Regions from separate parts of the Homo sapiens genome. Here regions 2, 3, 4, 5, 6 and 7 are each linked to region 1. The links are contacts of gene promoters, found by promoter capture Hi-C in blood cells and fetal thymus (Javierre and others, 2016). All regions are on one chromosome and are shown on one strand. Each heading gives the region's core, a stretch centred on a gene start or on the middle of the fragment in contact. The rest is flanking DNA. Distances are from core to core; before and after follow the strand shown. Region 1 holds the start of POLR1A (RNA polymerase I subunit A). Region 2 holds the start of LOC124907851 (a long non-coding RNA gene). Region 3 overlaps KDM3A (lysine demethylase 3A). Region 4 has its middle 11 kb from the start of ATOH8. Region 5 overlaps KDM3A (lysine demethylase 3A). Region 6 overlaps KDM3A (lysine demethylase 3A). Region 7 has its middle 50 kb from the start of MIR6071.

Region 1 (4,067 bases), core at 484-2,983:
TATAGAATCATTGGCCCATGACTGAGTTTTTAAGTGTTCTGTTTAAGTGTTCTGATCACACTAAAAACACAGTCAACACACCACAGATAATGTGACGGTTAGTATTATCTTGTGTTTCCCCTTACTAAATGGCATCAGTAACATTCAGAAAATTGTCAAGATGTGATTGCACAGACAGATACTTCCTCCAGTAGTATCTGGTTTCAGGTATCATTTAAAACAAGAATACCCCTCTACGTTAAGGACATTTCAGAAAGAGATCAACTCTTTCAAGTTTCTGAGATCAACTCTTTCAAGTCACACTATTTGTTTCTCATGACCTTAAAACAGAGATCACAGTTATTTTGAGAACGGATGCTGAGGAAGAGATTCTGCTTCAGGCAAAGAAAATGAGTAGAAAAATGCTAACGATGGCTACCAGGAAACGGAGGACTGGCATTGAATGGCAGCACAAAGGTTTCTGCAGTATCAGATGGAGTGGTTTCTCTTTCTTGAGGGGAACTAAGGGAGAGTACATATAAAAACATATTGTAAATTACATACCCCACTTATACCTCACAAACTTTTCGGATGGTTATTACCAACTCTAGTCTGCAGATGAGGAAATCTGTCTATTATCATCCAATTAAGTGAATGGCAAACACTAAACCTAAAATTAGGCTTTTAGCAAGTTTTCACTACAAATTACTGCCTCTCATATTCCCACAATGCCACTGTTTGTACTGAGTGAAAAAAAAATTACACAGATAGGTCATACATGTTCCAAGCTATAACTATCACAGATCAAAAGGGCATAGTCAGATCTTTTAGACTTTTCTGCTTTTACGAAAACCTGATAACTTCTTTAGCCAAAGTCCCCACGGTGGCGACCAGAGACTGCCTTTTATTTGGGAAGATCTTGTACGTTCTCCTCGCTCCTCCTGATTGGGTTAAAATGAGTAATGGCGGATAATTTTTAATTTGGGGTAGTGTTGCTAATAGCCACACTCACTGGAACGCAAGCTTCATGAGAGCAGGGTCCTAGCTTTGCGGATGGTGTTAACTACAGAATATTGCAAGCAACCAATAAGTATTTCTCTAATGAATAAATGCGTTGCGAATCCTATTTCAAAGGGCCACCTCCGCGTACCTGGTCTTAAGGGCACGCGACCGTTAAGGGCGCGCATGAGCAAACCATTTCATCGTGCCTACTTCCACAGCCAGCTGGGAAACATAGGACTAAGGTGACTCCGCGGTCTTCTTCGCGGATACCCTAAGCGTCTCTTACCTGCAGCTGCGTGCCTGTTCACACAAACCCGCCCGCCGACCCGTCAGCGGCTGGCCAAGCCTGCTGCGGAGGCCCAGCCAGCGAACAGCAGATACAACCGCCATCTTTGATTTCTCTGCAGAGCATGTTGGGAAAGCGTGCCTCGACCTTCAGGAAGGTGGGGCGCAGTGGGCGGGGAGCAGGGAACAGCTCCGCTATTGGCTGAAGCGGAAGAAGACGAAAGCAATCATAAAATGGGAGGTTGCAAGCTCATGGTTTGAAAGACTTCGTCACGGAAGCTAAAAGCTCTATACACCCGATTTGCCTCGGAGGAATTTTCCTAAATGATTATTTTGATGTCTTATATATCTTTGATTGTTTTCAAAACAAAAGAGCGAGCAGAGAGTCGTACAACTATTTGTTCCCCCCCCATGTAGAAGTGATCTCATCCACGTAAATGTCGTTCCTGCGACCGCTTCCGCGCGCAAGCGCACGTTGAATCGCGTGGTGACTCCGGGCTTGAGGTTGAATTAAGAATAGTCAGGTGGTGAGTGGAACGTCTCTTGGGGTGTCGGAATTCAAAACGGACCTGGAGGATGTTGATCTCCAAGAACATGCCCTGGCGGCGGCTGCAGGGCATTTCCTTCGGGATGTATTCGGCTGAAGAGCTCAAGTAAGGAGTTGGTCGGGTAGCGTGCCCAGCCTGGATCTTGAGGTCGGCGCCCTAAACTACGATTCCCAGAAGCGCTTTTGCCCAGTCTATCCTCTTGAGTCCAGGCTTGTCTGGCGCTTGTCCTGCTGGGAGCCGTAGTTCTGGGAACGTTCCTGGGCCGGCGTGGACTGCCTGGATAAGAGGCCGGTGGTGCTGGGGGAAAGAGTTTGCGCTGAGGTAGGGGAATATAAGGGTGGGGAGGGTCCTGGTCTGCAGCGTTATCATCTGCCAGTCTCCTCGTTAACTAACAAGCATTTGTGGAATTAACCATAGTGTACCTGACATGGTTAATTAGGCACGTAGTAAGTTTCCTCTTGTTTGTAAAATGATTGTCCTTCAAGTGTCAGTTCAGGCGTTAACTTCTCTTTGCTAGGACCCTGCTATATTCTCGGTCTGGTTGTTAAATCAAGGGAACTCTCTTTAGTCTTCATTTTGATCAAGGTAGCATTTGACATTCTCCAATGCACTCTCTTGAAACTTTCCTTTCTTCCAGAACCTTATTTGTCTTCAAGTTCTCCTATTTTTATGACAAATACTTCTACCTCCCTCTCTTCCTCTATCGATCTATAACCTCACAAACATTTATTGAGCATCCAGTTTTTTCCAGGCACCAAGCTAGGCGTTAATGACACATTGGTGAGCAAGGTCTGTACCTCATTTTACTCCTTAAATGTTGATGTTCTTCAAGATTCTATTCTAGTAATGTTTTCTTCATGGTAAATATTGTCCCTAGACAATCTCACCACTTTCATGATTTATAGTCTCAAATTTAAATCCCCAACGCAAATTTATTTCCCTGATTTTCAGACCCATTTGTTCAGCTGTCTGTACATCTTTAATTGAATTTCACACAGAGATCTTAAATGCATATCAAAAACTCAACATGGCCTAAATGCATATCAGAAACTCAACATGGCCGGGCACGGTGGCTCACGCCTGTAATCCCAGCACTTTGGGAGGCCGAGGCCGGCGGATCACGAGGTCGGGAGATCGAGACCATCCCTGGCCAACATGGTGAAACCCCGTCTCTACTAAAAATACAAAAATTAGCTGGGCGTGGTGGCGGGCACCTGTAGTCCCAGTTACTCGGGAGGCTGAGGCAGGAGAATCGCTTGAACCCAGGAGGCGGAGGTTGCAGTGAGCCGAGATTGTGCCACTGCACTCCAGCCTGGCGACAGAGCAATACTCTGTCTCAAAAAAAAAAAAAAAAAAACTCAACACGGCATCCCTCTTCAAAGGGAGGGGTTACTTACCCCTCCAAAATGGTGTACGTAGTGCAAAATAGTCACTAGAAACTGGAAAATTATTCTAGATCTCTCCTGACATATAACTTATTTATTGGGCTCTTACTTTGTGTCACCTACATGTCTATTTGTTCTTAGTCTCCTTTTTCTCCCAATTGCTACTGTGTTGCCTCTGGCCCTTATCTCATATTTGAATTGTCTTTTCCTTCCACCCTCCCCTTACACCTCTCAAGTGCATGCTCCACACTGCTGTCAAAATTATTCTTGCAAAGTGCAAATGTAGTCATGCTACTGTCACCCTTAAAACCCTCCAAATGTTCTCCATTTCCCTCAGATAAAGTATATTTTCTTAGCATAGCCTGCAAAGTCTCCCATGATCAGACCAATGCTGATTTTAGCTATAACATCATCCCTTCTTCAGCCCTATTAAACCACCTGCATATTCCAGAAACCGCCATCATATTTCAACATCTGGGCCTTTCTTTAAGCTATTCCCTCTGCATGCAGTGTCCTTTCAGCCAAAAGGAGGTACTTCCCTCTGTCCCCTACCCAACATACACACCTGAAAGCTCAGTTCACCTCCCTTGTTTTGTGAGGTCATTTTGCACATGATACAGTTGTCTGTCATGGTGCTTTAGTGACTTTTTGTGCTTATGTATATTTGTCTTCCTCCACTATCCTTGAGCTTCTTATATGTGTCACTCTTGTCTTTTATCCTCAAGTCTGAATAAATGGATGAATAAACTCCTGAGCCACAGCTCTGGTATCATTGGTAACAGTGTGCTAGCCCAGAAATTCCAATTATATCATCACTGCCATAAGTGGATACGATTTCATCCAAAAGCAGAAGTGTTTTAAGTTGCCT
Region 2 (4,067 bases), core at 1,142-3,641, 390 kb after region 1:
CCTAGAGCATGGAAAGGTTGAAATGGATTCGCATCTGTTCTTAATTACAGAGGCCGAGACAGATGTTATCTTACATGCTAGGGAGGGGCACTCACCAACACTGTGCTGTCGACAGCAACAATAACTCCCAGGCCTTTTGTGCAATATATTAATTTGGAAATTATTGACAACTCCTATCTTGCGTGACGTAACGTGGCAAGTGTACACAAAGTCTTCTTGAGTTGTCTTCGTCACTAGCCAGCCTCATGACTCTTTTCTCCCTGTGTCTGTACTTCCCAAGACAGCATCTCTGTTCCTCCCGTTTAATTGCACATTGGCATTGAAGAAGCCATTCACATCCAACACTGCAAGCTGTCATAGACATGCTCTGAAAAATGCGTTTTTAGAGTCTTTAATATACTCACGTGCACCGCCAATCACCAAAAACAGAGCAGGCAATGTTTCCCATATCTATTTGACCACCGGTAAGATAAGGGCCTCCCATGAGCTGAAGGGAAGCTTCCTACTTAAAGCAGGGATTAAAGCATTAAACAAAAGAGTGACTGAGGAGGGCTCAGAACCATGAGGGAGGCTGCGGGGGGCAGCCCTGTGACACCACCCGTGGAGGCCGTCTGATTCCTGACCAGCAGTTTTAAAAGATGTATTTATATATAGTGTGCATGCATATGTGTGTGTTACACTTTTAATTGACAAATAAGAAATGATATTTATTTATAGTTTACAACATGATACTTTGATATACGTACACACTGTGGAATGAGTAAATCAAACATATTTATCATCCCACATACTTAACCATTTTTTGTGGTGAGAACATTTAAAATCTACTGTCTTCGACTAGCTTATTGAAGTGGGGCGAAAAAACTAAGAAAATAAATAAATAATAATGTTTAGAATCTACTCTCAGCAATCTTCAAGTATATGATATGTTATTATTAACTGCAGTCTCCATGCTCTACAAGAAAACTCCAGAACTTATCCTCTGACCAGCAGTTTCTGGTTGACACAAAGACCTATTTCCAGAAGTTTCTTGAAGATACCATCAGGAAAGTAAATAGCAAATAGAATGGTTTGCTCTGTCATTATAGAAAGTAAAGATTGAAGGTCTCTCGGATGACCCAGCCATCAGCTGCAGTTCCCTGGCCTTATTCATTGCGAAGTCCGAAGCGGAGCCCCCATGTGTCAACACGTCACCACCACCATGTCTACGTAGGGCTGGAAACCGTTCCCCGCAGTCCTCTTCCTCATGCTCCCAGGTTAGAGTTTGCCAACAAGAGGATCTTGCACAGGACTTGGAAGGCAGAAGGGAAGCAGAAGTGATTGTTCTCAGGGGTTAGTAAGAACGGACGTGGCGCTTCATCAGATGCAGGTGCATGGCCGACTTCTAAGAACTCCCATGCCTGTCACTTCTTCCCCCACACCCAGGATTCAGGTTGAGGCTGTCAAGATGCAGAATGGCTTCTGTGTCCTGACCTCCCCTGACCCATGCGGCTGCATAAGGAGCTCCCTGCTCTCTCTGGCTCTGAGCTCCAGCTTCCACTCAGCCCCCAGCCTCACATGGGCCTCTCCTTACTCAATCCCCACCCCCAGTTCAGCATGGACCCATGCTGGAAACCTGACCCCCTTTTTAGGGCTCCTCAAGGCCTCTGTGTGTGCAGTGGACTTCACAGGAGGCTTAGAAGTTACCAGGAGAGTTTTGTCACACACCAACACAAATGATATTATTACACATTAGACACATGATTCTTAAAAGTTGCTCAGTCCTGTTTCTCCACCATTCCTCAGTATCAGGTCTGCTTCCTGAGCTCTGCTAAGACAAAAGCCATCTACTCTAGGCTGTAAGCATCAGCGGAGTGAAAAACTGCCAGGCGCCTTGAAGCTTGCATCTTTCTTTTCTCCATTCCCCACCAGTCTCCATAAACAGAAAGGATTAGTGGAGAGTAATTTTCCTACCCCTCCAGCCTTACTCTTCCTTAGAAGGAATATGTTGCTACACCTTCTATTCTTTTCATTCATATTCTCCCACTATACTCGAGTTTGTGGATGTCATTGACTCTGAAAGATTATATTTTAGGGTGGTATGTGTATTCATTATCAATTGCTGTGTAACAAACTGCCCCAAAACTTAGCTGCCTAAAACAATAAACTTTTATTTTTTTTCTCTGTTTCTGCAGGTCAAGAATTATAATTAAGAGTGACTTAGTTGAATGGTTCTGGCTCAGGGATTCCCATGAGATTGCAGTCAAGACGTCAGCCAGGACTACAGTCCTCCAAAGGCTTGCCTGGGTTGAAAGGGTCTGCTTCCAAGATGGTGCCCACTTGAGGCTGCTGGAGAGAGGCCTCAGCCCATCACCACGTGGGCCTCTCCACAAGGCCACTTGAGCATCCTCACGAGTGTCAGCTGACTTTCCCCAGAGTGAATGACACAAGAGAGAAAACAAGGCAGAAGCTACAATGCCATTTATGATCTGATCTCTGAAGTCACATACCATCACTTCCCCTGTATTCTGTCTTCAGAAGTGAGTCACTGGCCAGACACAATGGCTCACACCTGTAATCCAAGCAACTTGGGAGGCCGAGGCAGGAGAATTGCTTGAGGTCGGGAGTTCAAGACCAGCCTGGGCAGCATAGCAAGATTTCATCTCCACAAAAAATTTTAAAATTAACCAGACAGCGTGGTGCATACCTGTAGTCCCAGCTGCTCAGGAGGCTGAGGCAGGAGGATCACTTAAACCTAGGAGGTCGAGGCTGCAGCGAGCTATGATTGCACCACTGCACTCCAGCCCGGGTGACAGACCAAGACACTGACTCTAAAATAAATAAATAAATAAACAATCAAACATTTAAAAAGAAATGAGTCACTAAGTCCAGACCAAACTCAAGGGGAGGGGAATTAAGCTTCACCTTTTGAAGGGAGGAGTATCAAAGAATTTTCGGGCATAGTTTAAAACCACCACAATGCGAACAGTACAGGAAGTTCTTACTTAACGCTGTCCATAGGTTCTTGGAAATTGCAACTTGAAGCAAAAGAACGTATAGTGAAACGAATTTTTTTTCTTATTAACGTTATAACAAAATGATAGTGAATGAAATGACACTATTTGAGGACCCACTGTATGCCATTTCACTTGAAGTTGCAGTTTCCAGGAGCCTATTGACAATGTTAAGTAAGGACTTACCATACAGGACAAGGAATCAAAATACCTAGTTTTGTTTTGTTTTGTTTTGTTTTGGTTTGGTTTTGGTTTTTTGAGACAGGGTCTCACTCTGTCACTCAGGCTGGGGTGCAGTGGTGTGATCATGGCTCACTGCAGTCTCGACCTCCCCGGCTCAAGTGATCCTCCCACCTCAGCCTCTTGAGTAGCTAGGACTACAGGCACATGCCACCACGCCCAGCTAATTTTTGTATTTTTTTTGTAGAGACAGGGTTTCACCACGTTGGCCAGGCTGGTCTTGAACTCCAGGGCTCAAGGGATCCGCCTGCCTCGGCCTCCCAAAGTGCTAGGCTTACAGGGGTGAGCCACCGCACTCAGCCTACCTATGTTTAATTTTCCTTCTAAACACTGGGGGACTTGGGCATATCCCTTCACCTCTCTAGATCTATTTCCCCATCTGCAAAATGACAGGATTGACTTGGATGACTGCTAAGGGTTCATTTTCAGTTAGCATGTGTCTCAATGTTCCAGCACTCAAGACCCTAGGCCTGGACCCCAGAGCTCAGGCAGCTTTTCCTCCACGCCCCCACCTTCCCAGCAGATCTCGTTGGCTCTCAGCCCCAGGTATAGCCACCACACATCAGCTCCTCCAGGTGCTTCTTCCAGGCCTTGTAGCCTCCTCTGTCCCAGTGGTGCCCTGCCCTGGCAGCACACTGGGATCACTTGTGGAGCTTCGAAAACTCCCTGTGTCCAAGCCACACTGCAGTTCATCAGCTTGTCCAGGGTCGGGACCAAGTACCAGCAGGTGCAACAGCTCCCGTGACTCCAAGGCCCAGCCAAGGTTGAGAACCACCACTCTAGCTTGAGTGGCCCTTCACATGTGGAATCGTTTCAACAAATAAAATAACACTG
Region 3 (4,067 bases), core at 1,113-3,612, 380 kb before region 1:
AAATAGTTCCATAGTAAAAAGCAAAATTTCAGAAAAAAGCAATTAATGTAATAGAAATAAAATGAATGAAATGAACACATGGATGATATATGACAGCATGGATGAATATAAAAAATCTGATTCTATTTATATGAAGTTCAAAAGCAGGCTAAAAACTGAAAGAATATTGTGCAGGAATACAAATATATATGTTAAAATTGTAAATATAAGCAAACGATAAACACAAACTTGAAGATGGTGGTTAGACTAAGGGCAATAGGAAGAGGATGGAGCTGGCAAGAAAAGTAAGGAAAGGAGACTAGGAGGCAAAGCCTCAGCAGGACTGGCTGCCTGCTGATCCAGCCAGTGCCACAGTGCAAAACGAGCAAGGAAATAACTGCTGCCCAGCCACTGGCCCAAAGTCCACTGGATCCCAGTCATGGGTAACTGTACATTGATAAAACCAGACTCTAAACCATGGTAAACTGAGATGAAACCAAAATTGTAAAAACATAATGGTCAAAGGGAAAGGAGTGCTAGACAACAAAACATCCTGAAACAAAACACCATGGACTTTTAAGGGGGAAAAAAAGCTGAAACAGTAGGGGCTGTTGGGTGATGGGGAGTTAAGAGTGGGGGAAGAGTAGGGAAATGGGCTCTAGCTTGGAAATCAGGAGATCTAAGTACTAGTTTCAGACCTGCCACTAGCTGCCCCTTGGAGATCCTGAACAAGTCAATGCCCCTTCTACTGTCCGCAAGTCCTGGTCCTCATTTGCAAAATGGGGGGTGTTGCAGGAACTGAAGAGAGGCTGGATTATATGATCTCTCCAAAGAGCCTTTGCACTTACTCTCATGGAAGAGTCACAGCTCAATCACACAACCTTTGAAAAGACCACTCTTTAATGATGTTTACAATAAGATATAAGGTGTTTGAAAATGAACACATCATTATTTTCATCCTTCTGAATGCTTGCTTCTGGATGGGAACCATTTTGTCATAGGAAAAGCTTTTATAGAGTAACACTGCCATCTATTAGTGTCTAGGGGGAAAGACCCGCTGCCAAGCTAGTTAAACCACGCAAGCAATTCTTTTGAAAATTTCTCAGATACCCACCTTTAAAGCTTCAGGATTTCTATAAAGCATGGATAAACTATACAATTTATTGGAAAAATGCTCTTATATACTTAAGTTTGCCCAAGATCCCAACCATGCAGCTGCTTTAATCAGTCTCTGAGGGGCTCGAGGGACAGGACCTCGAGAGAGCACACTGCAGACCCACAGCACATGGAGGACTCACCAACAGAGACCTGAGAAGTGAGGAACAGGCAAGAGGCCTTGTGCCCACCGGGTCTTCTCACCCACACACAATTTCTCTGGTACCCCTACCCTGGCAGAACTATCTTGGGCATGGAGACTGCTGGGAGCTTGCACACAAAAACACTCCCCTGTCACAACAGTCCCCAACTACACTCCTAGTGGTTCCCTGAGCTGACTCAACCGTAACAGAATTGTGGGGCTGGAGTCCTTGCCCCTCCTTCCCTTCCCTCCCCCAACAGTCTTTGGAGAACATAGCGAAGACAACAACAGACCTTGTCCTTTTTGAGAAAGACACCCACAGGTCTAAGGCTAGAAATGGAAAATGACATGGAAGTAATTATGGCAGGAAGAAATAAGTAATTTCCAGGAGGACTGGAAAAGTAGGGGCCAAATAGTAAAAATGAGTAAATAAAATTCACTGAAATATTCAAACAACTAGAACTGCATTCAACAATACATACTTCCTTCAAAATGGCCAACTCGAATCCAGCCCTAATTAAAGGCCATGTGTAAAACTGACGAAGATCTCAGTTATAATGATGATGAAAGAAAGCTCTGGTAAATGGAGAAACCAATCTTTATCCCAGGCATCCTCCTTGTTAGACAGTGAGTATTGAGTCATGTCAAAAGAATAAAAGTCCAACTCAAAGGGTACTTTGAATCCTAAGTAACTAACTTCTACTCAACAACACAGAACACTGCATTTAATTGTAGCAGATGTTAAGACAGCTAGAATGCCAGCAGATTGACCTAAATGTCCGAACACTGAAATCACTAATAAAAGTACATTCTCTCAATGATGTATCACACACCATTAAAAGTCATCTAAAGACTATTAAGTAACATGTAAAGATTTTACAATGTAAAATTAGGTACAGTAAAGGGAAAAACACAAAATTGCATATGCCCTACAACTGCAACTATGAAAAGAAACACACAAACATGTGGCCAGGGAACGAAAGGAAATATGTAAAAATGAAAGCTGTGGCTGTATTACGCATTAGGATTATGGGTGTTTTCCACCTCTCCCTCCCACAAAATCAATTTTCCAAACATTTTGAATTGTTTTATTTCCATTTTAAAGTTAGCCATCTCCTCCTTACCATAAGCATTATACATCTTGGGGCCCAGATCTGGCCGAACAAAGTAGTTTGGCAGCCTAGAGGCCAAATTCAGTTTGCCATCTCGCCTTGTGTACTCGGGCAGTGGAATGTTGGCCATCAGATCATCAAACCTAGAACAACAGAACCAGGAATTTGCAAAGTTAGATTGCTTTTCTAATTCATTATTGTGTAACCTGTTTTGTTCCTTCTACACCAAAAGGAACAAATCCATCTGTGATCATGCAGACTGACAGCCATCAAATATTTAAGATGAGAAGTACAGCAGTTACAAAGATGTCTTCTCTCTCTCCTACAACACACCAATGTGTCAAAATCAGCTGTAACCGTTCAGACAAAAGATCTCAGCAATAAATTCTAGACAAAAAGTTATTCTTAGAGATATATCATTGATTAGTTGTGACACCCTTTTCAAAGTTTCAAGCTCAGTCAGGAAAATAGATCTACCCAGTAGATGTCTTCTTGTCTAACTCAGTGCTGTGACTACATTGTCCTGACCCTGACAGGTCAGATTCCACAACTGCCTCCAAATCAGCCTTGTAAGAAAAAGTGAGCCTCTTCTCTAGCAGGGCCTACCATGGAAAATCTGTGGTGTTCCATTAGTCAGCCAGGCCTAAAAGCCAATCACTTCTTCATCTCATCTAAAAATAAACATGCCTCCAATGACTACAGACTAGAAATGAAAAATCAGTGGCAGTATAATTACAGAACTTTTGTTATTTTCTTGAAAACTGTTTTCTCACTACCTCAAAAAAGAATTTATCCTACCAAGTGAAGGACAGAATCATCTCTCCCCACCTTCATAATCATACCTGGAAGGCATCATATCTCTAAAATCTTCTCCTGGTGGCCAGTCCTTAAGTTTCAACACCATTGGTTCTTTTTCATTTTTCAAACGATCTGAAAGGTAAACAGAATGAACTATTACTATTTATAATTCAGAAACAGACCAAAATAAATGACAAATTAGCATTTTATGCCTCAACAATACAAATAAAATATGTCTCTGCAAAATTTTCATAACCTGATAAATTTAGTATACAAATATTACTTTTCCTTAATTTTCCCCTCCTACCAACTATCCACCATTTTATTTCTGCAGTGTAAAAAAATCCATTTGTACCCAGGAGGCAGCAAGGTGCAGCAAAATAAAGATCACCAACTAATGGATCTGTGTCAGGGCCTTGTCTTTCCTAGAAGCTTATTAAGCTGCTACTCATTCTTGGGAGATTCAGCCGCTCCCTTTTGCCCACTGCATGTAGGTGGTATTTCAACAGCTGTCATCGATCCAATCTGCTCCTCCTCTACAGTGTTCCAGAAGAAGTGAGCAGCATCCCAACTAACCAACAGCAATGCACGTCAACCATCAAGGGTCACAGGTGTTTAGTAAACCCATTTTTCTGAGGCCAGCATGCAACAGAAATTACTTATTCTGCTCAGAGAGAGAGACTGACCCTATCTGATGTTCTGTCCAGGGACAACAAAGACCAACAGAACAGGTAATAATGCCTCAGTGTTTAAAAGCATAAACATTGTAACAAGGAAGGGGAGGAGAGACGTTAATTTTAAACTCCAAAATCCTGGAAAATGCTGCGGCTGCCACTGATGGGTCTCAGACTCCTGCCATTCCTGTGTCCCCTCCTTTCACA
Region 4 (4,067 bases), core at 600-3,099, 360 kb after region 1:
TCCCCACTGATGGCAGCAGCCAGAGAACATGAGGGGGCAGAACAGAGCTGACGCAATGCACATTTATTAGCAGTGAGGAAAATTAATAAGGCACCAGCTCGAGGGCAGCCCCACAGACCTGGATGCCCCAGGGACAGCTGTAGACCTGGTGGTCCCCAGGCTGAGTCCTCAAGATGCCTAATCAGTTGCAATTCTAGATCAGCACAGCTGGAGGGAGGCTTGGAGATCATCTAGTCCAGAGGACAAATGCTTTTTATCACGCATGCCAAATCTAATTGATTGGTAGAGGCTGCCTGAAGCTCTGTGTTGAAAAGGATCCTGAGGCTGCATCTGGGTCCCTTTGGGAATGAGTGCTATAATTGATTAGCAATGTCTGCCATGGATGAAAGAAAAGGAGTGGCAGGATTCACACCATGTGTTTGCCACTCCTGGTCTAGTTCGATCCTGCCTTTTTTTTTTTTTTTTTTTTTTTTTGATGAGAGAGACTGAGTCCTGACGCCCGTTGTTGGTAGGGTTTTTCCCAGCCTTCTCAGGAATCTGACTACTGTTGGTCAGTGGCAGGTAGCCTGAATGTCTCTGAGGACTGAAGATGTCAGATCCAAAGACTGTCTCCAAAAAGCCAGAACAACTGCTGATTTTAGTTAATGCTATAAACTGCCTGTTTCCTGGAAATAATCGGTAAAATTAGTTGTCTCGTGGAATCGACTGGTCAGTTCAACCAATGTAGGTGATGTATCAGGCCCAGGTAAGCCCCAAGCCAGTGTCTACCTAACGTTAGTGCTCAGTTTGGCCAAAAAGAGTTCATGGGGGAGGCTAACCAACTATCTGAGCTCAAGACAATAGAACTCCCAAGTGGTCAACAAAGTTGTTCTAATCAGATGGATCACTGGCCGTCTGATTACTACCAGACAAGCTTGAGTCAAGGTGTTCTAGCCACCCTGGCCAGGACTCTACCTCCCTCACCATCATCTCCTCCTGCCCTTCCAGCCTGGCTTCTTTCCTTTCCCCTTTTGAGCCCGTGACAGATCCTGCTTCCTCTGCCAGAGAATCCTTCTGCAGTGGGCTGAACACCTCGAGAAAGTCTTCCTGACTGACCCTTCCAACACCTGCAGATAGTTCCACTGCCTTAGAGCCTCTCCTTCCATCTGTGACAGCTCAAAAACCATTCAGGCCACTCCTCATTTTAAAACTGAGGAAACTGAGGCTCAAGAATGGACATGGCTCACTTGATATCACACAGGAGGTAGACTGTTGACTTTAACCAATTGCCCCCCACTCAGTTGGCTCAGGTCTCCTGATTCCAACTCCAGGGTTGTGGTGGCTGCCTGGGGAAAATCCATTCTGTCTGGTTCACTGAGTTTCGTGCGTGACTCAGAACAACACAGATAACTTCTGAGGACTCCTGGAAGTGGGCGGACCTTCACTTTGGGGTGGCAAAGAACTTGACATGTGATGGGGGTGTGTGGGGGAGTGTGAGGGTGGCGTGGGTCATTGGTAAGGGGGGTAGGCTGCAGGAGAGGGCTGACCTGATATGAACCCTGGGGGGACTGCCAAGGGGCCCAGCCACTACCTCCTGGGAACAAGGAAACAAGGTAGTTTATCTCTCTGGCTTCGGAGCGTTTGTCACACTGCCCCCTGGAAGTCTACCCTGGCATCTTAGGTCCCCAACATTCCCCATCTTGAATTCAACAATCCTCTTTTGAGTGGGGCAGGGAAAACAAGCCCTTCCACAAGGAACTCGGCTAAGTGAAAAGTGGCCCTCAGCGGTGGTGGACAGAGCCCAGGCTTTGGACAAGGATGGTCCCGAATTGACCCTTGGCTCACCACCTACAAGCTGGGAGTTTGGCTGAGTTCCTTGATCTCACCGGGCCTCAGTTTCCTTGTTTGCAAAGCTAGGATAGAAAGATTACTGGCCCTCATAGGGTTGTTGTGAGGATTAAAGGGAGATTATCAATGTAAAGGGCTGAGCACAGGGCTTGGCAGATGGCAGCTAATAACTGCACCTTGAACGTCTCTCCTCTCCTCTCAGTGCAGTACCATACATGCTTCAGGGCTCTGATCCTACCACACCTCCTTCAGGAAGCCTTCCCTGGACACACTCAGCCCAGAGGAACACACTCCGCTCTTGGGAACTTCCAGGCTCACCTGCCAGTGTTCTATACTGAAAGCCTTGTTTCTCCAAAGAACCCACAGATCACTGGGGGCTGATGTGGTTTGCAGCCCTCCTTGCTCCTGCAGGCTCCCAGCTCAGAGCTGAACACACAGCACATGCTGAATAACATGGCTGCTCAAGCTCCTGGCACCCTCTCCCCGCCCCAGCCCACCTTATTCCCCCAGATCCCCTGATTTTCCAACCCCCTGTCTCATTTGTTCCTAATGCTTCTGTCTCCATGTCTCCAGAGCTCTGTTTGCATGAGGGAAAAAACTCTACATACACACACACACACACACACACACACACACACACACACACACACAGCCCAGAAAGCATCCAGTTGCTCCCGGGCTGGCTGCCAGCGATTGAGTGACCTGCAGCTTCCTCCCCAAATCACATTCCACTGGCACGGATCTTGCCCCGCCTGACGCCAGCCTCCGAACTCGCCCCCAGAGCAAACATTTCCAGTTGGCAGCTCGGCCTTGTTTTTCTGAGGCCCTGATTCGGGCTCCCTTGTAGAAAACAGAAAACAAAATGCATTGGACCAAAAATGAAATGAAATAAATTTTAAAAGGATGGAGGGCTGGGGGAAGGCATTTGCTCCAAGTCACATGGAAAAATAGAAGCTTCAGGGTGTACAAATAGCGTTTAAGAAGCAAACACACATGCTCACCATCCCCCCATCCTGCTGGCTTTGAGGCTGTGATCAATTCATTCAGGCTGCTGCCTCCCGCTAAAAGACTTACTCTGTTCTCATTCACAGCTGCGAGGGGAGGACCCGGGAGAAGGGTGGTGGGAGACCACAGATCTGAAAGGGGAGGGTGATCGGGGTTACAGGACTGTTGTTTGTTCCAAAGGGGAAATTAGAGGAAGAAAAATAAACATGGCCAGCCACATTTTAACCCCAGTGCGCGAGGAGTCCGGGGATGGACAGGGTATGTGTGTGCGTGTGCTGGCGTGTGCACATGCCTGTGGGCGCCGCCGTGTTTGCCTTCTCAAAATAAGAGCTGCTCAGTGGAAAGATGTCATAACCCAGGCTCAGGCGGCAGGGGGACGGGCCAGCCAGGGGGGGCAAGGCTGGCGCCCAGGCCTGCCCATGGGGTCAGGCAAAGGCCGGGTGTCAGAACAGGGGAGCTGTGAGTCAAGGGCCAGGCGTTTGATGCCGAAGGTCAGCCCCCAGCTGGGGCTCAGTCCATGGGGAAGAGGTGGTCCGAGGAGCATTGCTAAGAAAGGATGAGCTCATGGGATGTGGGGCTCATCTCAGCAAAGGAGGGTTGTGATGTGGGGAGGGAGGCCCCAGGGGAAGTCCATGGAGGTGGAAGGGACTAGGTGAGGTGGCAGGGTGAGGAGGAGGACAGAGAGGTGGTTAGCTGACCCCAGAGTGAGGGCAGTTGGCCACCAATCTGGCTGGGTCACAGAGCTGAGGAGCAGGGCTGCAAAGCACCTCCTGCCCAGGAACAAGGATGCTGGGAGGTGGCATGGGAAAGGAGACAGGGATCCCAGGACTGAGAGAGCATGCGGGACCTGGGCTGAGATGTAGGGTCCTTGGCCCAGGAGAGTCCCAGACGTGTTGTCAAGCATCAGGCCAGGAGTGAGTGGGCAGTCACATGAGAAGCCAGGCAGGTCCGTCAGCTTGGGAAGCCGTGAGACAGGACGAGAGCAGGCAGCTCAGAGCTGGCACCAGGACCTGTGTGGCTGGGTCGCTTCTCTATGGTGCCAGCTTCTCCATACAGGGAAGAGCCTGGCACCTTTAAGGGAGCTGGCAGTACCGAAGAGATCCCAGAGAGAGGGCCTGATGGAGTCTGCAGTGGCTGTCGGTGCTCAGCTTGATGGTCAGGGGCTCTGGAGCAGGAAGGTACACAGTCCAAGAAGGAAGATCCAGTGTCCCCCAGAGGGCGATGGCAGGACCGCC
Region 5 (4,067 bases), core at 876-3,375, 360 kb before region 1:
GGCAAACAAACGAAAGTCAAAAACCAACAGCTTCTGGGGAACTAGTTGAGAGATGGGTGGGAGAGGTGAGTCTTGGAGAAAATTGGAAGATCCCAAACCAAAGAAGGTTTTAAATAAAGTAAACATCTTCAATAATTACCTTAGAGGTGATCTAATCTTACCTCTCTTTTAAAGCAGGACTAGACCACATGTAAATTTCTACATGATGCTGTTAGTCCTTGATCCCTTAAACACTCCTACTCAGTTATAGTGAAAGAGAAGGTAAAGTAAGAAAGGAGAGAAAATAAAGAGATTAGTAGTTCAAGGATGTAATTTTAATTACTCAGATATTGAAAGACATCCTTTGAGTTGAGCCAGGCTTCCACAGATCACAGGCAAGAAGGTTATCTTATCTGTTCTATCCTGGCTCACAAGAGGAAATATCTAGAAACAAGAAAGCTGAACTGTCTAAATCTAGCTCTTTACTGAGGAGAGCAACAGGTGCTACCATCAGTGATTCTCTGAATTCAAAGCCAAGTCAAGAGAAAAATGCAACGCCCACTTCCGAGGAGCCACGTATCTATCTGAACGGAAAAAAAGGCAGCTGTTTGACTCCAGTTTGCTTTTGTTTTCTAGACCCCAAGTGGAAGAAAGGAGCAGAAAAGTTTTCCAAGCCTTCTGTACTAACATGCAGTACTAGTGGACACAGCTCAGAAGTCCCGGTAGGCTTCTGATCACACTCTCACACCTCAACCAAAAAAAAAAAGTCACAGTAGATAGCAGGATGTGCTACTCCAGGATGTAAGTTTTTCACTTCTTTTAAAATCCATTAGATGGGGAATAGCTACATAACATATTAAATGAGACAAAGCTGGACTCCGTAACTCACTTGTGTATCTATCATGTGCTTATTGCACTAGAATCTTTACTGTTTCGTCACATAATATTAAATTTGCTTCAAAAACTAGCTGTGTGTGAGAGCTGATGATTCAAAAACAACAAATAGAACAAGGATATGGTTATGAATATGTACTTTCTTTTGAGTGTTACCTAATTTCTGAGAACAGGATAATCTTATGCAATTAATTTTATGCAAATTAACAGCTATATTAACTTAAGCCTCAATGAAGAAGCTAGGTTAGAAGTATTGCTAGGCAAAGAAAGTTCTTTCTATTCTTCCAATGCTATACTAAAAAGATTCGCAAGTCAAATCCAGCCATCTTGCCCTCTAATTTCACAGAGGCCTGCAGTTAAAAAGATAGTGTAGATATATTCATTTTTACTGATCCAAATAAATAAATTGTTTTCGTAGGTTGTTTTCGTTTGTTTGTTTTTTGAGCCAAGCTCTCACTCTGTTGCCCAGGCTAGAGTACAGTGGTACAATCATAACTCACCGCAGCCTCCAACTCCTGGGGTCAAGCAACCCCCCTGCCTCAGCTTCTCCAGTAGCTAGGAATAACAGGTGTGCCCCACCATGCCTGGCTGATTTTTAAAAAAATTTTTTGTGGAGATGGGGTCTCACTATGTTGCCCAGGCTGGTCTCAAACTCCTGGTCTGAAGCAATCCTCCCACAGTGGTCTCCCAAAGTATTAGGATTACAGGTGTTAGCTACTATGCCCAGCCTAAAACATTAACAAAATCCATATCAATTTCCCACATAGCTAACAGTGATCAAAAGGCATCTTTAAATTCTAATAGCTCTAAACCTTTTGACATGCTGAAAACATTTTGTTCTTCTAACTCTAGTAACAGAGCTTCTGATAACTACCACCATTATAATGCATCCTCAAACTTCATATAAGTAGCATCAAGTACAACGTACCAATTTCCCCATAAGAAGAGTAGTTTTAAATTGTGGGTGCAGCAGGACCTCCCCTTAAGCAAAGAGACTCTTCCTGGTAGTTCAGCCCTATCCGTAACATCTTTAACCCAAGTCCTTTTTCCAGAAATGATACAATTCTGCATCTTTTCTAAAATTTCAAATCTTAGCTACCTGTCACAGATCACCTCTTCCTACTCCAACCTGGATGTAACAGAAAGATCAGTGACAAGCTGAAATAAAGTAAACACCAGATTACTTTAGATTTTGTTTCAAAATTTTCTTAACCTAAGAATTGGGAACCACCTAATTACCCACCTAATAGGAACCAGTTAAATCCTATGGTAAATGAACATAATGGAATCCTTGCTTTAAAATACTAATAGACACCTACACTAATTCACAGGGTAAAATTATTGGCATGAACCCATTTGTGTAATACAGTTTATCTGTATTTCTATATACATGAAACCAGGTACACCAAAATATTAACAGTAATCGTTTCTGAGATTTGGGAATTATACCTTCTTTCAACTTTTCTGACTGTATAAACTATTTCTACAAAGTCATTTTCACATAGTTTCTCATAGGACAAGAAAGAGATATATATATCTACCATTTCTTACCTTCTACCAATAAAGATATTGAGAAACACTCACCATTCTGGATTTTATTGTTGCTTCTTGAACAACAGCTTTCATTATCTACTTTTACTGAAGATTCCTTTAAATTCTGTGATCGGCAAGCTAAAGCTGAAGGTTCTACCTTTTTTCCTGAACAGTTATTAGGGCTATCACTATTGACACCTGCTTTCACTTCTGGTGCATTTGAAACATCCGATGGGGAAGGTGCATGTTCTAGGTGCTTCTGCAGTTCAGGAGGATTGGCAATTTCCAATTCTGCCTTAGAAGAAGCCTTTGTAGGTAAGCACTCCTTAGGAAGGCCAGTCAATGCTTGTGGAACAGACTCCAATCTGTTTTCCTGATCAGTGTTTGTCTTAGGCTGAGTACAGCTGCCTTTTGGCTCAGTCAGAATTTTCAAGTCTCCAGTTCCAATCTGAGAGGACTTTGAGAGCAACCCTGCTTTGCAGACATCTGGTTTTGTTCTCAGAGCTTCAGACTTTGTATTTAGACAGGAAGAAATTTCCTCTGGTAAACTTTGTTTATGACATCTGAAAAATATAATATAGAAAGCTAGCATCCAGGCCTCTTTTTATCTCTCCATTATCTTCCCCAAACAAACTGTTTGGTTCCCTAAGGTAACGAGTATGAAAGAAAAAAGAAAATTTCTCATATGTTACAGAATTTAGGATAGATTTCTGTGAGCTAGAGTTAAAAGTCATCAGTCAATGGTTCTGCAAAAATCATAAACACTCAGAAAAATACAACCCTAAATTATGTCTGCACGTTCTCAGAAATCTTTAACTTCTTACGTTAGTTCTACTTCTCACAGCACAATGAACCTTAGCTTTCCCTCAAAACAAAATATTGTATGAAACCAAAGAATATACTCAGCAGATAAGCTGGTTTATAAGTATCAAAACCAGAAGTCTGTGTAGGGGCAATTCCGAAAGTTTTCTTTCTTCTTTTTTTTTTTTTTTTTTTGTGTGTAAATTTCAGAGAAACCTCTGCTAAAACTCTTTCTTCTATAGTAAAGATTATGTTTGAATTTTAAAGATAAAACTCCATTCTTGCTACTTGCCAAGAGTCAAAAATTGAACCTCTAGTAAAGGTCAATGTGTCAAGATAAAAATTCTAAAATATATACGTATATAAAAAATGTTAGAAATCCCTTCAAAGATATTCACACAAAATCTAATTAAAAACGAACAATGGGCAAGGCACAAGGGCTCACACCTGTAATCCCAGGATTCTGGGAGGCCAAGATGAGAGGACTGCTAGAGGCCAGGAGTTCATGACCAGACTGGGCAAAATAGCAAGTCCCCCATCTCTACAAAAAAATTAAAAATTAGCCTGGTGTGGTGGCACGCGCCTGTAGTCCCAGCTACTTGGGAGGCTAAGGCAAGAGGATCAATTGAGCCCAGGAGTTCAAAGCTGCAGTAAACTTAAACTTTGACTGTACCACTGCAACTGCACTCCCTCCTGGGCAACAGAGCAAGATCCTGTCTCTAAAAAACCTCAAAAACTAAAAAAAAACTAACAAACTGGCAGCAGCACAAAACCCTTTTCTGCTATGAGCAACATGTAACCAGCCCTAACAGAGAATAATTTCATTCTTGTTTGTTCAGTGATCAGCACACAGAGCAAAT
Region 6 (4,067 bases), core at 1-2,500, 340 kb before region 1:
AGATGTTTTACTGTGCAAGGAGTAGGCATCCATAATACCCACACTATTTAAGGTTCAACTGTACTTTACTTCTCATGTTAAAGGAGTTCGTATTTCTGTTTCTAATGTTTACTACTGTTTCTATGTTTTACCTGTATAGGCTTCAAAAGGTCTTTAGAAAGAAATACTCTTTGTTGATCTCCCAGAAAGCGAACAGAAGTTATGGATCCCAAACCAGCTTTGTCCAACAGAGGTTTGTACGTCTAAAACAAAAGAAAACACTTTAGCATCATAACTGCTGTCAGCATAATTCTGAAAATAGGAACTGGCAATTTTCCACACACAGAGAAAGTGATAAAGCCACTAATTTTTTTTATTTACTGCAAGTTATCTCATAACAACTATTTATGCAGCCATAGATAATACAATTTTTATTCAAACCCAATAATTTAAACCAGATAGACATTTGGGAGTTATTAATATTCAAGACTGGGTTCACAGATTCATGGTGTCCCAAAAATTTATGCAAAAACTGTTTGTATGCACACTTCTCTGGGGAGACAGGCCTGTGTTTTTAACCAGTTCTAAACAGCTGGAAAAAAAAATACAAAGAGCAAAATAAAACTTTAACCACAACCCTCATCTCTCAAGAATCTCCATAGCAGCTCTTTTCACTCATGGGCAAAATCAGATCACAATCTGATCAGCCTTCAACCATTCTCCCGGCCTTTCCAAACTATCCAGATCCAACCTTCCCTCCTTGAAGCACCAGCTCAAGTCCCATAAAGACTAAAGTGCCCTCTCCAGACAGCGCTCACTCTTCTCTTTGCACCACACTTTACAATGTGGATATAGCACAATCATATACTGACTTATAGTATCTTTAAAGCCAAAAAATATAATAATCCAGAGGGAACCTTAAAGATCATAAGATCAAGACTGGAAACCCTACAGAGAGCAAGGCAACAGCTACTATTTGGCTCTAGCCCATTGCTGCCATAAGGCTCCAGTGTTGCCATTATCTTGTAGATTTTTTAAGAGACAATGGAAATCTAGATTTTCAGATGTATTCTCCACATTTTTTAAAGTAGGCAATTAATTCAAATGTTTTGAAAGTACTGCAAGGGCCAAACCAAACAGATCTATATGTTTGCATATGACTGCTAGTTCCTGCCTTCTGACCTAGACATTCCCACTACTACCTCCATCCCTATTTGTCAAGTGAACACGAGGTCCAACAAAGTCAAGGGACTCGCTCAGAAGTGCAGAGTTCTTAAAAGGGCTGGCAGGAGATCCTGGGAGCTTTTCTGACTTTCTGGCATTACATTTACATATTCCTTTTGTACCCACAATGGATAAAATGCCCTCTTCTCAGGAGTTCAATAAGCCCAAGTTTTACTCACTATTGCAGGCCACTGTACAATTCGTTCAGAAATTTCAGGTGACTTTCGTTCAGCTAAAACCAAATTATGTTCTACTAAAAATGCTCTCCTTAGAAGGCTGTAGACTTCTATCCATCTTCTTTTCCTCCAAGATTCCCCATCAAATTCCACACACACCTAGACAGACAAAATTGGGGGGTGGGGGAAGCAGATTCAATTTATTAAAATAAGCATTACAAATGCCCCAGCTGAACTATACCTTCATTATTCTATTTGAATCCTTTATCTGGATGTGCTTTCCCCCTTCCAGCTCCCTCACTTCCTGTCACAGCCCACAATACATAATCACACATGAACCAGGCTTTGGCTCCCAACTCACTTCGGGATGCAGAAGTCAAGGCTTTTTGGGCCAGTCTGTGTCCCTAAAGTAAACCCCTGGGAAGCCCAGAAACCAAACAACCCCTACTTATCAGGCGTTTACATACATTAATTAGACATCTGAGCTTTTGGAATTGCAAGACAAAAATTTGAAACTCAAAAGATGTACTTAATAAAACTGCACTGTAATTGTCTATTGACAATATAAGTGGGCTTAAGATGACCCCCCATCACCACAATCCACCACCTCCTTTTGAATTCCTCTGGAATGAGTAAATTTAGCACAAGGCCTAATATACAGCACATCTTCAATATCCCTTTCAGTTGAATAAGCTAGGAAATTTACCACAGAATTTGGAGTCTTAAACTACTTGTTGGATAACATAGAAACGAGTGATTAACAAAATGACCACAAAGTTTTTCAGAACTATCTCTAGCTTCTTATATGAAAGTTAAACTACCTTGAAATATTGTTTTCCAAGTAATTGTAATGTTTTCTGCTTCTGACCTGCATAATACTTTTAACCCTAAGGCTACAACTCTTAAAACCTGTATACATATTTAAAGACATTAAGAAAATTCAGTCTAAAAGTGGGCTTCTGGGAGTGATCTATGAGTAGGAATTGTTTACAAAACCATAAAACTCAAAGTCATATAAAAGCATTGAAACACTCCAGCTTCCTTAACCTATTATAAATATGCTACCCCTTAACTTACTCTAGGTCCTCTTCAATGCTTTTTGTATTCTACCAATGACAATAAACTCCCTCGATATTCAGTGTAAAAATCACTGTTTTTATTTGATTTAAAATTCCTCCTCTTACTAAAGAGGTCTCTCATTTTGGTTTCCAGGAATTAGTTAATACATCTATCATCTATCAAATCTGTTCATCATTTTACAGACATCACTCATACATCCCTTTTCAACCTTCAGTTTATTAACTAGTTAACTTCATCTATCAGAGCACAATTCATATATCCTTTCCTCAAACAAACCTTCCCTTACCAAAGTGCCTCTCTCTCCCAAGAGAGGTCCCCATACTAACTGTACTCAAAGTTTTGTACTTTTCCGTCTTAGCTCTTATCCACACTTTGCATTATTTATTTGTTAACTGATTGACAATTAAATTCTAATAGGTCAAAGTCTGTCTCTGCTTTTGCTTACAACTGTATATCACTAGTATATGGAATCTAATTGGTACTCAAATACTTGTTAGCATAGATTAATGAATAAATTTCCCTCTGCATTGGGTTCCTATCTTGTTTCTCTCACCTGCTTAGAAGGCACTAAATTCCCACATTAGCCCCAATCCCAAACCTTCTCCAGTCTACAGGATAAAAATAAATGAAATCTAAGATCTATCCTACCCTTCTCAGCCAACAAAACATGCATCCCTAACCTCCCAGGCGACTTTACCTAGGAAACTACATATCTTCTTGGTATTTTAGGCTTTTAACTTTGCAGTTATTACTGAATACTTTCCAAATCAGAATAAATGTGAACACCCACGTGGCAAGGCCCACATACGTTTCTCCCTGGTTATATGTTTTCTATCACTGTAATCAACCAAATGGTCTTTCATAAAGGTGGGCAGAGACTGCCCATCTTCCTTTCTGTTTCCTAGCCACAGAATCCATATGCTCTGACATCTCCCCTAAATTGGCTAGTCTTTCTGCTCCATATTCACATCAACCTCAAACCCAACCAAGCTTTAGGTAGACAGTTTTCTTATTTATCAGCAATGTGGTATAAGAGGAATGAGCACACACAAATTCTAGATCCAGATTCAGAGACCTTGAATTCCCAGCTACACTGAATCTCTCTTAGAATGATTTTACATGTATAAAATAAAATACTTATGATTACAAAGGAAACCAACTAACTTGCACCCCAGGTTAAGAACCCTCACTTAGAAAATCTAAGTTCTCTCAATGTTTTTCAAAATGAAAAAAGTGACACCTCTCATTGCATAGTTAGGCATATTTTAAAAGACAGTGTATGTAAAGTGTCTGGCAAGACAACTAGGTAGTTTTAATACCTCCATGGTTAATTCAAATCTTATCAAGGTATCACTTATTAAGTTAGGAGCAGGGGAAAGAGGATCTTCAACACAATTATCTAATATCTATTCAGCAAAAAAAAAAAAAAGTGCAGAATTAAGAAGGATTAAGATCTTAAGTGGTTTCCCAAAACTTAAGCAACATCACAGTTCTTACCAGATCACTATCTAAAGCTTAAGATAACCCTAAACCAAAAGACAGACAGGGCCCCTTTCCATATCCCAATTTTTGAGTGATTTGAAAAAAAAAAAAAAAAGTTTACCTCCT
Region 7 (4,067 bases), core at 936-3,435, 270 kb after region 1:
TTGCTTTGGTTTTTGTATATGGTGAGAGATAGAGGTTCAGTTTTATTCTTTTGCATATAACTATCCAGTTTTCCCAGCATCATTTATTGAAGAGACTCTCTCCTTTCCCCATTGTATGTTCTTGGTGCCTTTGTCAAAAATGAGTTGGCTATAAACGCATGGATTTATATCTGGGTCTGGGTTCTCTATTCTGTTCCATTGGTCTGATGTCTTTGCATGCCAGTACCATGATGTTTTGGTTACTATAGCTTTGTAGTATATTTTGAAGTCAGGTAGTGTGATTCCTATAGCTTTGTTCTTTTTGCTCAGGATTGCTTTGGCTATTTGGGGTCTTTTGTGGTTCCATGTAAATTTTGGAATTATTTTTTCTATTTCTGTGAAGAATGTCATCGGGTCCATGAGCGTGAAATATCTTTCCATTTTGGGGTGCCCTCTTCAGTTTCTTTCATTAGTGTTTTATAGTTGTCTTTGGATAGATCTTTCACATCTTTGGTTAAATTGATTCCTAGGTATTTTGTATTCTTTGTAGCTACCATAAATGAAATTGATTTCTTGATTTCTTTTTCAGATTGTTGTTCTTGGGATATGTAAATGCTATTGATTTTTGTATGTTGATTTTGAATGCTGCAACTTTACTGAATTCACTTATCAGTTCCAACAGTTGTTTGGTGGAGTCTTTAGGTTTTTCTAAGTATAATATCATGTCATCTGCAAACAAGACTAATTTAAACTTCTTTCTTTGATGCCCTTTATTTCTTTCTCTTGCCTTATTGCCCTGAAACTTCGAGTAGTAGGTCAAATAAAAGTGGTGAAAGTGGGCATCTTTGTCTGGTTCCGGATTTTAAAGAAAAGGGTTTCAGTTTTTCCCTATCAGTATTATATTAGCTAGGAGTTTTTCATAGCTAATGACCTTTATTATTTTGAAGTATGTTTCTTCTATACCTAGTTTGTTGAAGGTTTTTTTCTTATAAAGGCATGTTTAATTTATTGAATGCTTTTTCAGCATCTATTGAAATAATCATATCGTTCTTGTTCTTGGTTCTCTTAATGCGATATATTGTGTTTATTGATTTGTATGTTGAACCATCCTTGCATCCCTAGGATGAATCCTATTTGATCATGATGAATTATCTTTTTAATGTGTTGTTGAATTCCATTTGCTAGTATTTTTTTGAGGATTTTTGCATCTATGTTCATCAGTGATATTGGCCTATAGTTCTCTTTTTTGGTTGTGTCTTTGTCTGGTTTGGTATCAGGGTAATGCAAGCCTTATAGAATGAGTTTGGAAATATTCCCTTCTCTTCAATTTTTATGAAGCATTTGAATGGAATTGGTCATCATTCTTCTTTAAATGTTTGGTAGAATTCAGCAATAATGCAATCAGGTCCTAGACTTTTCTTTGATGGGAGACATTTTATTATGGCTTCAATCTCATGACTCATTAGTGGTTTGTTGAAATTTTCTATTTCTTCATGGTTTCAATCTTGGTAGGTTGTATGTGTCCAGGAATTTGCCCATTTGTTCTAGGTTTTCCAACTTGTTGGCATGTAGTTGTTCATAACAGCTTCTAATGATTTTTTGTATGTCTGTGGCATCAGTTGTTATGTCTCCTGTTTCATTTACAATTTTATTTATTTGAGTCTTCTCTCTTAGTTAATCTAGCTAAAGGTTTGTCAATTTAGTTTTTGCCAAAAAAAAAAAACCTTTTCATTTCATTGATTTTCTTTATTTTTTAGTCTCCATTTATTGCTGCTCTGAATTTTATATCTTTTCTTCTAATTTTGAGTTTAGTTTGTTCTTTTCTAGTTTTTTGAGGTACATCATTAGGTTGTTTATTTGAAGTCTTTCTACTTTTTTGTTACAGGCATTTATTGCTATAAAATTCCCTCTTAGTACTATTTTTGTTGTATTCTACACATTTTGATATGTCATTTTCCATTTTCATTTGTTTCCAGAAATTTTTAAAATTTTCTTAATTTCCTTATTGGCCCTAGGTCATTCAGGAGTGTGTTAATTTCCATGTGTTTGTGTATTTCCCAAGGCCCCCCTTGTTATTTCTAGTTTTATTCCATTGTGATCAGAAAATATACTTGATATGATTTCTACTTTTTTGCATTTGTTGAGACTTGTTTTGTGGCCTAATATACAGTCTGTTTTGGAGAATGTTCCATGTGCTGATGAAGAAAATGTGTATTCTGCAGCAGTTGGGTAAAATGTTCTGTAAGTGTCAGGCCTAATTTGATCTGGTGTGTAGTTTAACTCCAGTGTTTCTTGATTTTCTGTCTGGATGACCTGTCCATCACATATAGTAGCATGTTGAAGTCCCCTACTATTATTGTATTGCAGTCTATCTCTCCCTTTAGATTTGTTAATGTTCGCATTATATACTTGAGAGCTCTGTTGTTCAGTACATAGATATTGATACATATTTCCTCCTGCTGAATTATTCCCTTTATCATTAGTGATCTTCTTTGTCTCTTTTTACAGTCTTTGATCTGTAGTCTGTTTTATCTGATGTAAGTACTTACTTATATCAGCTACTTACTCCTGCTCTTTTTTGGTTTCCAATTACATAGAATATCTTTTTCCATCCCTTCACGTTAGAAGTGAAATGATCTTCTTGTAGGCAGCATATAGTCAGGTCTTATTTCTTTATCCATTTAGCCATTCTATGTCTTTTAATTGGAGAACTGAGTCCATTTACATTCAGTGTTTTTGTTGATAGGTAAGGACTTACTACTGCCATTTTGTTGCTTGTTTTCTGGTTGTTTTGTAACTCCTCTCTTCCTTTCTTACTGTCTTCCTTTGTGGTAAGTGATTTTCTCTGATAGTATGTTTTAACGCATTGCTTTTTATTTTTAGTGAATCTATTATAGATTTTTGCATTGTGGTTACCATCAGGCTTACCAAAAAAATCTTACAGATACAACAAGTTATTTTAAAGAGATGGCAGCATAGATCACACAGAAAATAGAAACAAAGAAAAATGTAAAAACAAAAAACTGAAAAAACCTCTACACTTTAACTTCATCCTCCCCACATTTTGGCTTTATATTATCTCAATTTATATATCTTTATATTCCCTATCTCCCTTTTTTTTTTTAATTTTTTTTTTTGAGACAGAGTCTTGCTCTGTCACCCAGGCCAGAGTGCAGTGGTGCAATCTTGGCTCACTGCAAGCTCCAACTCCTGGGTTCTCACCATTCTTCTGGCTCAGCCTCCTAAGTAGCTGGGACTACAGGTGCCTGCCACCACGCCCAGCTAATTTTTGGGATTTTTAGTAGAGATGGGGTTTCACCATGTTAGCCAGGATGGTCTCGATCTCCTGATCTCGTAATCTGCCCACCTCGGCCTCCCAAAGTGCTGCGATTACAGGCGTGAGCCACCACACCTGGCCGATATTCCCTATCTCTTAATAGGTTGCTATAACTATTATTGTTTTTGATAGATTTGTATTTGGGGCTTTATACTAGATAGATAGATTTGTATACCATAGTTATGATGTGGATTATATACCACAATTACAGTATTAAAGTAATACTGGGTTTATCCATGTATTTAATTTTACCAGTGGGTTTTAAACCTTCAAATATTTTCTTTTTGCACATTAGTGAGTTTTTTCTTCTTTTCCTTTTTTTAGTTTCTTTTCTTTTACTTTTCTAGTATCTTGAAAACTATCATAGCTCACTGCAGGCTCGAATGCTTGGGCTCAAGCAATCCTCCTCCCTCAGCCTCCCAAGTAGCTGGGACTACAGGCACTGCTGTGCCCAGCAAATTATTTTGTGTAGAGACAGAGTCTCACCATGCTGTGCAGGCTGGCCTCAAACTCCTGGGCTCAAGCAATCCTCCCACCACAGCCTCCTGTGTAGCTAGGACTACAGGTGTGCACCACCACACCCAGCTAATTTTTAGTTTTTTGTAGAAATGGGGGTATCACTATGTTGCTCAGGCAGGTCTTGAACTCCTGGACTCAAGCAATCCTCCTGCTTCAGCCTCCCAAAGTGTTGGGGTTACAGGTGTCAGCCACCATGCCCAGCCTGTTAAAGATTTCTAAAACCATGGATCAC

The links. The method cuts DNA at HindIII sites, captures the fragments that hold promoters and counts their contacts. A CHiCAGO score of 5 or more calls a contact.
Region 2: a fragment that was not itself captured here is called in contact with the fragment with the promoter of POLR1A in region 1 in 8 of 17 cell types (erythroblasts, megakaryocytes, neutrophils and 5 more); the score reaches 12.3 in erythroblasts.
Region 3: a contact is called between a fragment that was not itself captured here and the fragment with the promoter of POLR1A in region 1, in 1 of 17 cell types (megakaryocytes). The highest score is 6.5, in megakaryocytes.
Region 4: a fragment that was not itself captured here is called in contact with the fragment with the promoter of POLR1A in region 1 in 12 of 17 cell types (fetal thymus, endothelial precursors, megakaryocytes and 9 more); the score reaches 11.4 in fetal thymus.
Region 5: a fragment that was not itself captured here is called in contact with the fragment with the promoter of POLR1A in region 1 in 1 of 17 cell types (megakaryocytes); the score reaches 6.0 in megakaryocytes.
Region 6: a fragment that was not itself captured here is called in contact with the fragment with the promoter of POLR1A in region 1 in 4 of 17 cell types (fetal thymus, naive CD4 T cells, naive CD8 T cells and 1 more); the score reaches 7.8 in fetal thymus.
Region 7: a contact is called between a fragment that was not itself captured here and the fragment with the promoter of POLR1A in region 1, in 14 of 17 cell types (fetal thymus, M2 macrophages, naive B cells and 11 more). The highest score is 14.9, in fetal thymus.

What each region holds. Positions count from the first base shown.
Region 1 is chr2:86,103,552-86,107,618 of GRCh38, reverse strand. POLR1A (RNA polymerase I subunit A) reads left to right here and starts at 1,733. Exons shown (of 34, transcript NM_015425.6): 1 at 1,733-1,919. The coding sequence starts at 1,843. It overlaps PTCD3 (pentatricopeptide repeat domain 3), which reads right to left and starts at 1,384. Exons shown (of 24, transcript NM_017952.6): 1 at 1,268-1,384. The coding sequence starts at 1,371. RefSeq lists enhancers at 1,074-1,333, 1,714-1,923, 2,124-2,213. The HindIII fragment of the contact is 4,349 bases long and covers 1,005-4,067 here.
Region 2 is chr2:85,713,921-85,717,987 of GRCh38, reverse strand. It overlaps LOC124907851 (a long non-coding RNA gene), which reads right to left and starts at 2,727. Exons shown (of 2, transcript XR_007087118.1): 1 at 2,687-2,727; 2 at 681-1,291. The HindIII fragment of the contact is 1,019 bases long and covers 1,882-2,900 here.
Region 3 is chr2:86,484,193-86,488,259 of GRCh38, reverse strand. It overlaps KDM3A (lysine demethylase 3A), which reads right to left. Exons shown (of 26, transcript NM_018433.6): 20 at 3,231-3,318; 21 at 2,401-2,531. Among named protein-coding and RNA genes, the nearest start is that of KDM3A, 45 kb to the right of the region's middle. The HindIII fragment of the contact is 2,517 bases long and covers 1,104-3,620 here.
Region 4 is chr2:85,741,132-85,745,198 of GRCh38, reverse strand. No RefSeq gene overlaps it. Among named protein-coding and RNA genes, the nearest start is that of ATOH8, 11 kb to the left of the region's middle. The HindIII fragment of the contact is 1,868 bases long and covers 916-2,783 here.
Region 5 is chr2:86,465,274-86,469,340 of GRCh38, reverse strand. KDM3A (lysine demethylase 3A) reads right to left here. Exons shown (of 26, transcript NM_018433.6): 10 at 2,458-2,969. Among named protein-coding and RNA genes, the nearest start is that of KDM3A, 26 kb to the right of the region's middle. The HindIII fragment of the contact is 6,796 bases long and covers 1-4,067 here.
Region 6 is chr2:86,447,278-86,451,344 of GRCh38, reverse strand. It overlaps KDM3A (lysine demethylase 3A), which reads right to left. Exons shown (of 26, transcript NM_018433.6): 3 at 1,383-1,538; 4 at 132-242. Among named protein-coding and RNA genes, the nearest start is that of KDM3A, 7.9 kb to the right of the region's middle. The HindIII fragment of the contact is 4,402 bases long and covers 1-3,451 here.
Region 7 is chr2:85,832,069-85,836,135 of GRCh38, reverse strand. No RefSeq gene overlaps it. Among named protein-coding and RNA genes, the nearest start is that of MIR6071, 50 kb to the right of the region's middle. The HindIII fragment of the contact is 8,623 bases long and covers 1-4,067 here.